2 separate regions of the Homo sapiens genome follow, and region 1 is linked to region 2. Evidence: promoter capture Hi-C in human tissues and cell types (Jung and others, 2019). All regions are on one chromosome and are shown on one strand. Each heading gives the region's core, a stretch centred on a gene start or on the middle of the fragment in contact. The rest is flanking DNA. Distances are from core to core; before and after follow the strand shown.

Evidence for each region. Contacts are between HindIII fragments. The study calls those that stand out against the background at their distance.
Region 1: a contact is called between a fragment that was not itself captured here and the fragment with the promoter of CDCP1 in region 2, in 1 of the 25 tissues and cell types used here (H1 embryonic stem cells).

What each region holds. Positions count from the first base shown.
Region 1 is chr3:45,509,201-45,516,021 of GRCh38, forward strand. LARS2 (leucyl-tRNA synthetase 2, mitochondrial) reads left to right here. Exons shown (of 22, transcript NM_015340.4): 16 at 3,935-4,035. It overlaps LARS2-AS1 (LARS2 antisense RNA 1), which reads right to left and starts at 345. Exons shown (of 4, transcript NR_048543.1): 1 at 157-345. RefSeq lists a silencer at 417-711. The HindIII fragment of the contact is 5,198 bases long and covers 1-5,198 here.
Region 2 is chr3:45,144,931-45,151,713 of GRCh38, forward strand. CDCP1 (CUB domain containing protein 1) reads right to left here and starts at 1,448. Exons shown (of 9, transcript NM_022842.5): 1 at 1,276-1,448. The coding sequence starts at 1,357. The HindIII fragment of the contact is 13,721 bases long and covers 1-6,378 here.

The DNA of each region.
Region 1 (6,821 bases), core at 1,350-3,849, 370 kb after region 2:
TAGTGGTTTAGAGTTGCAGATTTTCCACTCACTTATAAAGGCCCCTGCTGTGCACAGTCACTATGATGAATGAATAACTCAGTTGCATACGCAAGTCTGTTCCCAAGTACCATCTGTTGAGTGAATGAATGAGTGAACAAAAGGGAAACACATTACCCCAATTGTGAATCTGAATAATGAACTTGGCAATGTGATGTGATCTCTGCTCCAGCAGGCCTGGGTTCCAAGTCCAGCAGGGCCCTTGATGTCCTTTGTCCTTCATTCCTGTGCACCTTGCGCCTCCAAATCACATTTGGTACGTCTTTCTTGTAGTGCTGATGGTTATTTATGAGCATGTCCTGGGCTGCCTGTTCTTATTGTAAGCTCTCCAATTAATTGCCTAGTGCTGTGTACCCAATTATCATGTAAATACATGTTGAATGAATAAACAAGTGTGACTCATTCAGAGCTAAACTACGCATGAGAGTAGACATGGCCAGCTTCAGCCAAGAGTGAAAACCAGATTCCCAACTCCCTATAGCCCATTCCCTGGCTCCCTGGAAAAGTGGAGGGAAAACACTTGGGAATGAGCAGGATTCTAGGAGCTGGGAAGCGCCCCTTTCCCCACTGGGAAATTCCATGTGAGCACTCATCGGGGCATTCCCCTGCTCTCATTCTCTTGCTTCAGCTGCTTGGGATCTTTCAATGCACCCCTCCCTGCAAAAAGATGGTGGCACTAGCTGGAAAGTATAGCATCCAGTGCCCCACTTCACTCATTTCTTTCTTCCCTCCTCTCTTGCCTCCACTTTGTCCTACTCACATTATCCCCCACCCCTGCTGCTGGTAGGTTTATTCATCCACTGAAACAAGCTTGATTGAGTTCAAGGCAATTAACATTACTGAGCATCTGTTAGGAACTGGAGACTGAGAGTGGCCTTTAAGGATTTTCAAGGCCAGGAGCAGTGGCTCATGCCTGTAATCCCAGCATTTTGGGAGGCCGAGGCAGGAGGATTGCTTGAGCTCAGGAGTTCAAGACCAGCCTGGGCAACATAGTGAGACTTCATCTCTACCAAAAATACAAAAAATTAGCTGGGTGTGGTAGTGCGCGCCTGTGGTCCCAGCTGCTTGCAGGGGTAAGGTGGGAATATCACTTGAGCCCAGGAGACTGAGGCTGCAGTGAGCTGTGATTGTGCCACTGCACCCCAGCCTGGGTGACAGAACAAGACCCTGTCTCAAAAAAAAATCATCCTCCTACTCCTCACAGGAGAAAGACAGGCAAGCAGCTTACCTAAATACACAATAAAATGTAATAGCTGCTAGATACAATTACAGGCACTACACAGGATGCATCAGGAAGGAAAAAACAACTAATTCTAATTCTGACCAGGAGATACCTTCTCAGTGGAGATGGCATTTGAGTTGAGCCAGGAAGGAGGACTAGAGTTTTGATAACAGTTTGGGAAATGGCGTGAGTAAAGACGTGGAAGCACATGCAGGCAACATTTGAAAGAGCAGAGGGAGTGGCAGGGGACAGGGAGAAGTCCTGGATGGCTATGCGGAGGAATTTGGACTTGATTGGGAGGAGGAGCTCTTCAAATATGACTGCACTCTTTCTTTTCCTCCCTCACAGCTCTGAGAGTTGTCAGGCATTGGTTTGGTTCAGTGATCGTAAACAGGCTGGCTCCCCAAGGGCAGAGATTGCTTTGCCCAACATTATATCCCCAGTGCCTAGCTCAGTGCCAGGCACATAGCAAGCACTCAAGAAATACCAAAGAAATAAGTGATACATTTCACATAATAACTCTGTGCTTTCTGATTATATGGTACGAAGAAGAATTCAGAGACTCGTTCTGAGCACCAGGAGTGCTGCTGTCGATGAATGGTGTCTGGGTGGTTGTAGGCAAGGGCACTGGGGATAGTTGGCTAGGTTTTGCCATCCCTGCTCTAGATGATCCATCTGAGATGGCCCCTGCTGCACTGCAACCCTCAGAGAAGACAGTCCAGAAGAGCTTCAACTGTCAAGTTTCATTGTTGGAAGCTTTCAGACATTAGGATATATTCATGTAACTAGCAGGTCTTGGTGTGGGTGCACTGCTGAGGACCTGCCTGCCAGTTCTGGGGAAAGCCTCCCATGTGGACATCCCCTGAGAGCTCTCACTAAGAAATGGCTACAAGCGGGTTAGAAACAGGCAGATGAAATAATAGTGTTAGCAGTCAGGCTATAGGGGCCCATAGTGAGGAGACAGTGCCTAGAAGCGGATGGAAGGTTGATTTCACGTTCTGCTAATTGGGCTGAATGCCAGTTACACAAGTGTGTTTTATATTGTGAAGATTCATCATTATACCGCTAGGACTTACACTTTTCAATATGTGTGCTATACCTCAACAGTTTACCTTAAAAAAAAAAAAGTTATAAAAGACGAGGCAAAAGTTGCAGCCTTAGGCTGAACAGCTGGGGTTAGTCAGTTTTTCGCAGGTTGCAATTCTGTCCGTTCTCGGAAGGTGGCAGTGTTGTGCCACTTGATAAAATACAAGACCTAAGAATAGGATTCCTTGGATTCCCAGCCCCTTCTTGAGGCTTAATGCTGCTGATTTTTTTTTTTTTTTTTTTTTTTGGAGACAGAGTCTCGCTCTGTCTCCCAGGCTGGGGTGCAGTGGCGTGATCTCGGCCCACTGCAACCTCCGCTTCCTGGGCTCAAGCAACCCCTGCCTCAGCCTCCCAAGCAGCGGGGACTACAGGTGCGCGCCCCCACACCTGGCCAACTTTTTGTATTTTAGTAGAGACGGGGTTTCACCATGTTGCCCAGGCCAGTCTCAAACTTTGAGCTCAGGCAATCCACCTGCCTCGGCCTCCCAAAGCGCTAGGATTACAAGCGTGAGCCACCGCGCCTGGCCAATGCTGCTGATTTTGATCATCCTACCTATCTTTATCTTTGAATCCAGATCATTCTCTCCTAACTTTTGCCCTAAAAACACCTTTAAAAATTTACCTTGAGCAACCAAAGCCATGTACTGGTGATGTTTGTGGGGAACATCACTGGATCTCCAGGAAATGAGTGCTCCTACCTGATACCCTGAACACGAAATACTTAACGTGTGTTATCAGCAGATATCGCCATGAATCATTCTTTGAGTTTGGAATAGGTCTTGCTGAAATGCCTCAAAATTGAATCAGGCAGATTCTTAAGAATAAACAACTGCAAATTTGCAATAATTTCAGTATGAAGGTCAACCTGTTCTTATCCTCTTATGAGAAAAAGTTTATATGTCACTATTTACCCAGTAAGGGTATAACTAAAACTACTTTTTAAAACAGGTACTATAAATAAGTTATAATCAATTCATATTTCAGAACACTAGGTAACTTTTTAAAAAGTGAGATAGATCTATATGAACTGCCATGGAGAAATCCATTCATATCATTAAGTGAAATACCATAAAGTATACATAAGGTATAATCCCACTTATATAAATCCCCAAAAATCTATAAAAACCATATGTGGATAGGTACACATTTATGTATACAAAGGCATTGAAAAATGTCTCCAGACTTTTCCAGGGATATATACCAAACTATTAATAAGAACTGCCTCCTGAAAGGGACATAGGCCTAGAAAGGAGTGGTAGTGTTTGGATTTGAACAGAAGGTTTATAGTCATATATGACTTGTATGGTTTAAAACTTTTTTTAGGCCAGGTGGGGTGGCTCACACCTGTAATCCCAGTACTTTGGGGGGCCGAGGCAGGTGGATCACGCCCAGCCTGAATTTATTTTCTTATCACTTATTTCTAAGGAGCCATTTGTTTAAGCTGGGTTTATAAGTGGCCTTGGTCAGCCCGCCTGCTTTTATGAGGGGCAGCTACTTCTGCCCATCCGAGGGAAGGTCTGCGTTGCTGTTTTCTCAATGCCTCATGTCCCACTCCTCCTGTTTTCTTTTCCTGTCATCTTTCCTCAGGGAGCCTTTTCATAAGCTGCTGGCCCAAGGCCTTATCAAGGGGCAGACATTCCGCCTACCATCTGGACAGTATCTACAGAGAGAGGAAGTGGATCTCACAGGTAAGAATGGCCCATCTGGTCCCATCCAGGTACTCCCAGAGAGCCAAGGCCAGGCCTGAGAGCTACTGAGCAAGCAGGCATCTGCCTCTAGAGTGGGGAGGATGCAGGAGAGAGACCCGCTGGCTGTGAGGTCTCTAAGCCTCAGCTCCCTCTGGGCCTGCGCCCCCTGAAGCCTGGTCCTGGACTGGCCGTCTGCTCCTCTGCTGCAGCCCCCTTCAGCCAAAGTGCCACCTCAGCTTCTGGCAGGGTTTTCATTTGTATGTAACAGAGTCAACTCAGGCATGACCTCCTATCCCAGACCATCTTTGAAAGCCCACCTCAGGGATAGAGCCCCCAGGCCCAAGACACATTCTTCCAGAACTGGGGTACTCCCAGTGTTTCTCCCAACATGTTCTAGTGGCACATTTCAGAACCTTGGGGGGCAGCACTCGGTTTACTCGTAGCACCCCAGAGCAGCCCCCTCTTAGCATTTCCCAGTAAAACACCTCCCCCTGATTCCCCGAACTTCCCTCCTGTCCCAGCTCTCCCAAGCCTTTTCCTTCCACTCTGCATTTTCACCCTTTACCCTTTACATTTCACCCTTCATTTTCACCCTGAGGATCACAAGATCTTCAGGTGCCATGGTGAGGATGTATCACGTGCACCCAGCACACACGTGGAATATATGACATGTTAGAAAATGGGTAGGGGCAAGGTGTGGTAGCTCACGCCTGTAATCCCAGCACTTTGGGAGGCCAAGGCAGGTGGATCACCTGAGGTCAGGAGTTCAAGACCATCCTGGCCAACATGGTGAAACCCCGTCTCTACTAAAAATACAAAAATGAGCCAGGCGTGGAGGCATGCACCTGTAATCCCAGCTACTCAGGAGGCTGAGGCAGGAGAATCACTTGAACCCAGGAGGTGGAGGTTGCAGTGAGCCAAGATCATGCCACTGCACTCCAGCCTGGGCAACAGAGCAAGACTCTGTCTCAAAAAAAAAAAAGAAAGAAAGAAAACAGTTGGAGACATGCAGTATACATAGGGACAGCTGTGAGAAACCCCCAGCACTGTGACCATTACATTTAGAAAAACTAGTGCATAATGGATGAGATTAGGTCACACGACAACCCTGTAAATGGTAGGCAGCCTCTCCAGCCAAACATTAGAGACAGGGTTTAGGGAAGCAGTCGATGCAATTACCTCATCAAAGCAAAATATATCAAGGTTTATAACGGTCCGTGGGAGAAAAAGAAGCTGGAGAAGCAGAACTGGCAGTGTCTCTCCAGCATGGATGACAGAGGGAAAGAGCTAAATTCAGGTGCACATAGAATTCAGCCTCACAGTTAGTGAAGTGTTCTCTGTAACAGGCAAGGCTGCCCATGTATAGCTGTGCAGTTTGTGCGCTACACAAAAGAACCAAGCCAAGGCTGTGATTTCAGTAGGGCCTGAAATGCAGCCGTTTCTCAAGCCATACATTTCAGGGCAACATCTGCCAAACGAGGGTGACTTTTTCTAACTTCTCAACTTTTCTGCCCAGAAAGATACATTTTTTCCTAATTTGCATAACAGTGTTTTAAGGTCTAGACACAGCCTGGGGCAGGGTAAAGGGGCCAGTGGTTCCCTGAGTCTCACCACAGCGTGGATAAACATCTAGGACTTCAGTCTCCCCTTCTCTGCTGTCATGGGGTCAGGCAGTATTGTGAACATCTTTTCCCTTCCCACGTAGTCTTGCCTACTGGGTGAGAATACTTTGATCAGCAAGGGCAGGTTTCTGTCTCCTTCATGGATGTAACTCTCATGAAGTATGGAGTTGGCTTTTAGGTCTGTACATCGGTCCCCTGTTAGCTTGGTTGCTGTTGGAATCAGAGATTATTTGGCTGGAAGGAAAAGAAATCCACCCAAACCCAGTTGCAGAAAATAGAGCTAGGCCCCACTGCTCATAGGAAGTCACCAGCCACTCCTTTTTTCTTCTCTCTTTCTCAGCTCTCTCGTTCTTAGTTCTTCTTCCTGCTTCTCTCTGTTCTTCTGCCCTGTTCTCCTTCATCTGCCAGACTTGGATTCTCCTCTCCCCAATTTCAATTTACCAAGTGACCTTGGGTAGCTGCAGTGGCAAGTCTTGCCCCATCTCCTTAGGACCTGATGGTCCCAGTGCTCAGCAACATGGAAACTGAGTTTCTGTATCTCTTAGCTCCAATTTGTGAGATAGAGGCTTAGCCTTGCCAGGTGCTCTTACTAGTCCTCTCCAGTAGGGCTTGGCAACAAGGTCACCTCATCCAAATGCGGCCATTTAAGACCCCTTCCATCAGCACCATCTAGACCAGTGGTATGTGAGTAGGGGAGGAGACAGTTCCAAAGAATAGGGTGTGGGTGGCTGGCACCACAAAGGGACCAACACATTTACCATGAGCCCGGTAAGTGAATTCCATGTGCCCTGAGAGTATGAGATCATGTTTTGGTGACTGCAACATGGATGGGACAGGTCAGGCTGCCAACTTCCATAAGAGACCCTTAATTCATCAAGAAAATGGCAACGTGTGCGAGTTTTTCAAAATTCTTTTTTACTTTCCTTTTTTGTGTATAAATAATTCACTTGTAAAGGGGGAAATTGTTTTGTTTTATAGAAAAAGCTGGCACAGGCCATTATAACTGTCCTGTTTATTCGCGAAGGTTTGTGGGAGGAAGGTGGGCCTCATTCATTTAAAAATAAAAATATTTTTATAACAATACAGAGGGAGAGAAAGCGGCTTGTTAAGTGAATTAGTGTGATTCTTCAAATGGACACTTTCCATCGCTCACCCAGTTTTTAC
Region 2 (6,783 bases), core at 198-2,697:
GCTCAGGAGCTCGAGACCAGCCTGGGCAACACAGTGAAACCCTGTCTCTACTTTAATATATATAATTTATATATATATTTATAAATCCATGCCATGGTTTAAATGAAGTTTTAAATTTTCTATCTACTATGCAGCAATATGTCACCTGATGTTGGAGAATGAACCAGGAAGTATTCCTGGAGCTTATATTGATATTTTAGAAGCTCCTGTCTTGTATTTGTAAAGACGGCAGTCACCGGGACGCCCAAATTCAACCTCACTTGCGTCCTTTTATTCCTTTATCTAATTTACACCTGCCAAACACAAATCCACCCTAGATGCAGCAAGGGGAATCAAACCCACATGGCTTCCTGGAGAGCTCTATTTAAAAAACACAAAACCTGTACTAATCTCGCGAAACCTGTACTAGCCTCACATCAAGTTCTTACATGAAGAAACCAGGTTATTTACTACGTTCTAATACATCCAGGGCCCACAGGGCATTTCCTGGCTGGCACAGGTCACTGGGACGTGTTGGTCCCTTCCCCCAACCGAAACAACTCGAAATTCACACATATCCCCGGAACAACAGCCTCCTGCCCTCAAAGTCCACTGCCAAAAAGTGCGAGGGGCGCGGGAATGTCCAGTCTCTGCGGTGGCGCAGATGCCTGGCGGCTTTCTCTGGGACCCCCTAAAAGAAATCCGGGCGCTTTCATTTTTGCACCAACGCTCTTCAACTTTAGGAGAGGGGGAATGCAGCGTGCGGACGGGAAAAAGGGGATCTAGTGGGAAATGCGGACGTGAAAGCACTTTTTTTGCACCTTCTCTCTGGACCAGGCGAGGAGGTAGAGGGCGAGCCTGGAGAGGAAAGATCTCTTCCCACACCCTGCCTGGGTGCTTTCAAGAATCCCGGCAAAGACCCTGGGGCGCACGGCGCGCCACCTTGGACATGTCGCCTGGGATCGGCTACCGGGAGCTCCTTTTCCCGCCTTCTCGGCCAGCACCGGGCTCATCCTCCCGGACCGGGAGGCTCCCCGATCGGGGACACTCTCACGTGCCGAGGGCAAGGTTGACTCCAGGAGGGCAAGGCCCACGCGCCCGACGCGGCGCGCGCAGGAACCGAACAGTCCGGGGGTCCCGGAGCCACCCGCGCATTTTGACTACGCCGTCCCCGCCCTCTCTCCGCACCCTCCGCACCCTCCGCACCCTGCGTCCCTCGGCCGCATCTCCGCCGGGCGTCCGCTGGCTGGCTAGCTCACCACTCCACGCCATCCGCCTCCAAAGCCCGGCACTCACCTGCCCCGCGCGGCAGGCGCGCCGCACCCAGCAGCAGAACCCCTAGCAGTGCGATAGAGACCCCGCAGTTCAGGCCGGCCATGACTCCGGGACGCCTCGGCCTCGGTGGGGAAAACGACGGTGGGGAGCGGCGGCCCCAGGCGCCCAAGCCCGGCGCAGCTGCGCTCCGCCCTGGCTCACTCACCTGCGCGCGGGCGGACCGGCCCGAGCCCCGCCCTGCGCAGCAGGATCGCGAGCTGACCCGGTGCGTCCCTCCTCTCTCTCCTCCTCCTCTTCCTGCCTCAGCGACCGCCTCTCCCTCCCAGGGTGCAGGGCTCCCGGCACCGGGTTGCTGGGTCCCTACTACTCCCCATTGCGGCGTTGGAGCGGACTTGTCCCCACCTTTCCGGGCTTAGTCTTCCTTCCCAAGTCTGAGAATGATGAGGTCTTTTTCTCCAGAGTCGCGAAGGTCGCCCATAGAGGAAGCCAGTCTACCTTCCCTTTTCTGTCGAGGAGACAAAGGCCATTATGCGCCTCGTTTTGGAGAAGAATCCTATTTGTGGGCCACCCAAGCCCTGGATCCTCTGCTACTTGACTTGGGCCAGAGGTCTGTTGGACTTTAAAGCCGGTGGTGGTACAGCTAGTATTTGCAGGACGGTGAGCCTGCAGCCTACTCCACACACATCACCTGCAGTATTTCCAGACACGCAACGTGTCCAAGGTCCCCAGGGTAGCTAGTAAATTAGAGGCAGATGCACCACTTCGTTGAATTGTGAGTAGAGTAGTATGCATCCCTTCACTGAGCTGTGGATGGAGTAGTATGTGCCCTTCTCGAGTTGTATTATAAATGGAGTAGTGTGTGCAGTGTGAGCGTGAAGCATTCAGGTCAAACGTTGGGCTGGAAAATGAATGAAAAATGAATGGCGCTGGACTCCTTTTCCAAATCCTCCCAGCCGCAGGTGTGCCACCTGCCTGTCTTCAGAGGCCCTGTGGGTTCTCCTTCCACCCTGCCGGCCATACACCAAGTCCAGGCCACAGGCAGAGATTGCGGATGGTTCAGGAGTTCTTAGCTAGCAGACCTGGGTTCTGCCAGAATGACTCCCTGGGACTACTTGTGTTCATGGATAGCCAGAAGCTGGGCCAGAGTCACCCGGAGCAACCTGGGAGGCTTGGGACAGGAACCAAAGCATGTGCGACAGCATCAGTTTACAGTCCAGTCCCAACTTCTGCTTAATTCTTGCGGGCACTGAGCCTCTCCAGGCTGCCCCAATCCTCCTTGTGGACAGGGGTGGGAAATCATCTCCTAGGAGCGTCACCCCTTCCTTCTCGATGTCCTTAATCATGAGAATAGAGCTAGCTCTGCCCTCTGGGAGCCCACAGTCCATCGAGGGAGGCAGAACTTGGAACATGACCCTGCCCACACCCCCACCTCTGGGAGGGCCTGTATCGTGAGCTAAACGGGACCTTAGATGTAATCTTCTAGTCCACTTCTGTCCTTGTGCAGAAAAATGGGAAAACTGAGAACTAGAGGGAAGGGAGAGGATGAGAAACGAAGAGAGGCTCTTGGTTCTCCCCACTGAATCGAGGACAAATTCATCAAGAGAAAGAAATCTTGACAAAAATCTAAACAATCTTTAAAAATATTTATGCTGACCAGGAGGGTGAAAGGAGATTTGTCTTTTCTCCTGATTCTAAGCAGGCATATATATCCCAGCATCTTTTCCTAACATCCATGACACCATTGTTTCCCACATACAGTAATACCCACAACAGTACTAGAATGGCAGTGTATTGAATGCAAAATATCAGAAATATTGCTTGACAAGTTAAGCCTAAGGAACAAGTTATTTCCTTACTATTTCGTCTCTCCAAAGTTTGCTTAACTGTCTTTCTTGGGATAGTTGACACCAGCTTTCTGAAAATGGAATGAGAGTCACTAATTCCCAAATATGAAGCATTGGTGGTGGTTCCAGAAAGTAGCAGCAACGAGAAAGAAGAAAATAGGGAGGCACTTCAGCATCCTTTGCGTGACAACCCAACTACATAGTTGAAGTAAAGATGTCCTGACATACTGTCCTGGTCCTCCAAGTGGAGTGTGAACAAAGCATTGCCAAGAATGGACATGTTTTGTCTTTACAAACATGGCTGAATGGAAGGAGTAAATTTTAAAAGGTTATTTCTGAACTGGAAAGCAACGTAGGTAACTATAATCTAGTGCTAGAGAGAAATGAGAGATTGAAAGGTAAATTTTCGGCTGGGTGCAGTAGCTCATGCCTGTAATCCCAGCACTTTGGGAGGACAAGGTGGGTGGATAACTTGAGGTCAGGAGTTGGAGACCAGCCTGGCCAACATGGCAAAACCTCATCTCTACTAAAAACACAAAAATTAGCCGGCTGTGGTGGCGGGCGCCTGTAGTCCCAGCTACCCAGGAGGCTGAGACAGGAGAATTGCTTGAACCTGGGAGGTGGAGGTTGCAGTGAGCTAAGATTGCACCATTCCACTCCAGCCTGGGCGACAGAGTAAAGTTCTCTCTCTAAAAAAAGAAAAAAAAAAAAAAGGAAGGTGAGTCTTAAAACAGACTGTCCCATCTAATTTTGACCTCTTCTGAAACCCTGCAAAGGCTGTAAAACAGGGATTAAAAAAAATTACATAAGCCCACAAAGGTGGGAAGAACAGAGAGAAGACAACAGCAAAATCACCCTGGAAGCTAGACAGCAGCTGGACTAGTGGTAGCTGCCTTAGGAGCCTGGAGATGGCAGAACCCTAAGCCAGTAGTGGGGAAAACTCAGAAATAACACGATTAACACAGAAATCCTCAAAAAAGATCCTCAGGAAATGGCAGCACAAGGTATTCTGCAACTGGAGGGTGAAAGAGGAGTTAAACAAGAAAGGCTAGAAGAAAGCTGTTTGAGAAGTACTGTGGTTAGATCCCAGAACCCATCCATCATTACCCTTGCCTGGGCAACAGTCCCTCGTCCAGCTTCCAGTGTTGTTCTTGAGAAATCCAAAACCATTCTCATTTTTATTATTTTCTTTGAGACCCTTTTCTTGCCTCTAAAGCTGTAGAATCTTCTTTTTGTTCATTGGTTTCTGAAATTTCACCATAATGTGCCTTGATGTGAGTCTGCCTATATTATCGATCTTTAGATCTTGACAAGTTAGAGGGTTGGTAAGCTTAACAACTTTAGTGTTGTCTTCTGGAGAGATTAAAACCTAGGGATGTGGGCTGAGGGATGCCAGGCATAGCTGAAAGCATAGGAAACATTGTAAAAGTAGGTAAATAAAGGGAAGATATGCATTCTGAATGCTGAGATCCCCAGCTGTCTGGCCCCAACCTGCATCCAAGGATGAGACAAAAAGGCTTTGTTATCCATATTGGGGATGGAAAAAGTCTTCTTCTGGGGAGTCTGACCAGCACAGGAGGAAAGACCCAAACATATGGACATTAGACCCTCATAAACAGGCCAACCAGCTTCCTACCATGAGGCTTTCAATTAAGCCCCACCAACTTAGCTTTTTAATATCTCATTTTAATTTTAATTTTTATTTATTTATTTTTTTTGAGATGGAGTCTCGCTCTGTCACCCAGGCTGGAGTGCAATGGCGCGATCTCGGCTCACTGCAACCTCTGCCTCCCGGGTTCAAGCGATTCTCCTGCCTCAGCCTCCCAAGTAGCTGGGACTACAGTTGCACACCACCACGCCTGGCTAAGTTTTGTATTTTTAGTAGAGATGAGGTTTCACCATGTTGGCCAGGCTGGTCTCGAACTCCTGACCTCATGTGATCCACCCACCTCAACCTCCCATAGTGCTGGGATTACAGGCGTGAGCCACTGTGCCTGGCCAATATCTCACTTTTAAACATGAGCAATCAGGATTTCAGGATATCTGAGGAGAGCTTCTAACATATTAGAGTCAAAGCCAACCAAGTAACCAAACCGAGAAAAAAGAAAGAAAGAAAGAAAGAAAGAAAGAAAGAAAGAAGCAACCTGAAAGACTATACAAAGAGAAGAAAATAAAAGGAAGCAAAACAAAAAAATTACTAACTCTCTTAGAGTGATGTAGGCAACTATAATTTGGTGTCAGACAACATTCTCTCTGTGAAGCAGGAACAGCATGTTATAAAAAACAAAACAAGGCCGGGTGTGGTGGCTCACACCTGTAATCCCAGCACTTTGGGAGGCTGAGGCGGGTGGATCACCTAAGGTTGGGAGTTTGAGACCGACCTGACCAACATGGAGAAACCCTGTCTCTACTAAAAATACAAAAAATTAGCCAGGCGTGGTGGTGTGTGCCTGTAATCCCAGCTACTCAGGAGGCTGAGGCAGGAGAACCACTAGAACCCAGTAGGCAGAGGTTGCAGTGAGCCAGGATTGCACCACTGCACTCCAGCCTGGGCAACAAGAGCGAAACTCCATCTCAAAAACAGAACAAAACAAACAAAAAGATTCAGAGAACCACAAAAGAATTATTGGAAATGAAAAAAAGTGATTGTAGATAAAAAAAATAATAATAAATAAATAGAAGAGTTAGAAGTGCTCCCAGAAAGTAAAGCAAAAAGACAAAGAGATAAAAAGTAGGAGGGAAAAGTAAAGAAAATTTGAGGTCCAGTTCAGAAAATCCAACATCTGAAAAATAAGTTTCCTAAAAAGAGAGAGCAGATGAAACAGAGGAGACGACATCATCAATAATATAAGTGAAGAAATTCTCCAGGCCTGAATGACATGAGTTTCCAGATTAAAAGAGTCATGGAGTGCCCTGCACAATGGATAATATAGGCAGACTCACGTCCAGGCACATCATGGTGAAATACCAGAAACCAATAACGAAAAGAAGATTCTAGGCCAGGCGTGGTGGCTCACGCCTATAATCCCAACTATTCCTGAGGCTTAGACACGAGAATCACTTGAACTCTGGAGGTGGAGGTTGCAGTGAGCCGAGATTACACTACTGTACTCCAGCCTGGGTGATGGAAACAAACAAACAACAAAAAAGAAGATTCTGTAGCTTCCAGAGGCAAGAAAAGGGTCTCACAGAAAATAACAAAAATCAAAGTGGTTTTGGATTTCTCAAGAACAACACTGGAATTTGGAAAACAATGAAGCAATACCTTCAAAATTCTGAAGAGAGATAACTTCCAAATTAGAATTCTATACCTAGCCAAACTACCAATTAAACAATAAGGTAGAAAAAGGGCACTTTTAAACGTTCAAGATCTTAAAAAACCTCCAAACCTCCTACATACCTCTTCTCAAGAAAATACTGGAAGATGTGTTGCATTAAAACAAAAAATGCCTACAACACAGGGAGGAGTGGATACAGGTTTGTGGGGGGTAAACATAATCACCTTAAGAAAAATAATACAAAGTTGCAAATAGAAAATCAAGTGTGGGGCCAGGCATGGTGGCTCATACCTGTAATCCCAGCACTTTGGGAGGCAGGGGTGGACGGATCACCTGAGGTCAGGAGTTCGAGACCAGCCTGGCCAACATAGTGAAACCCTGTCTCTACTAAAACTACAAAAATTAGC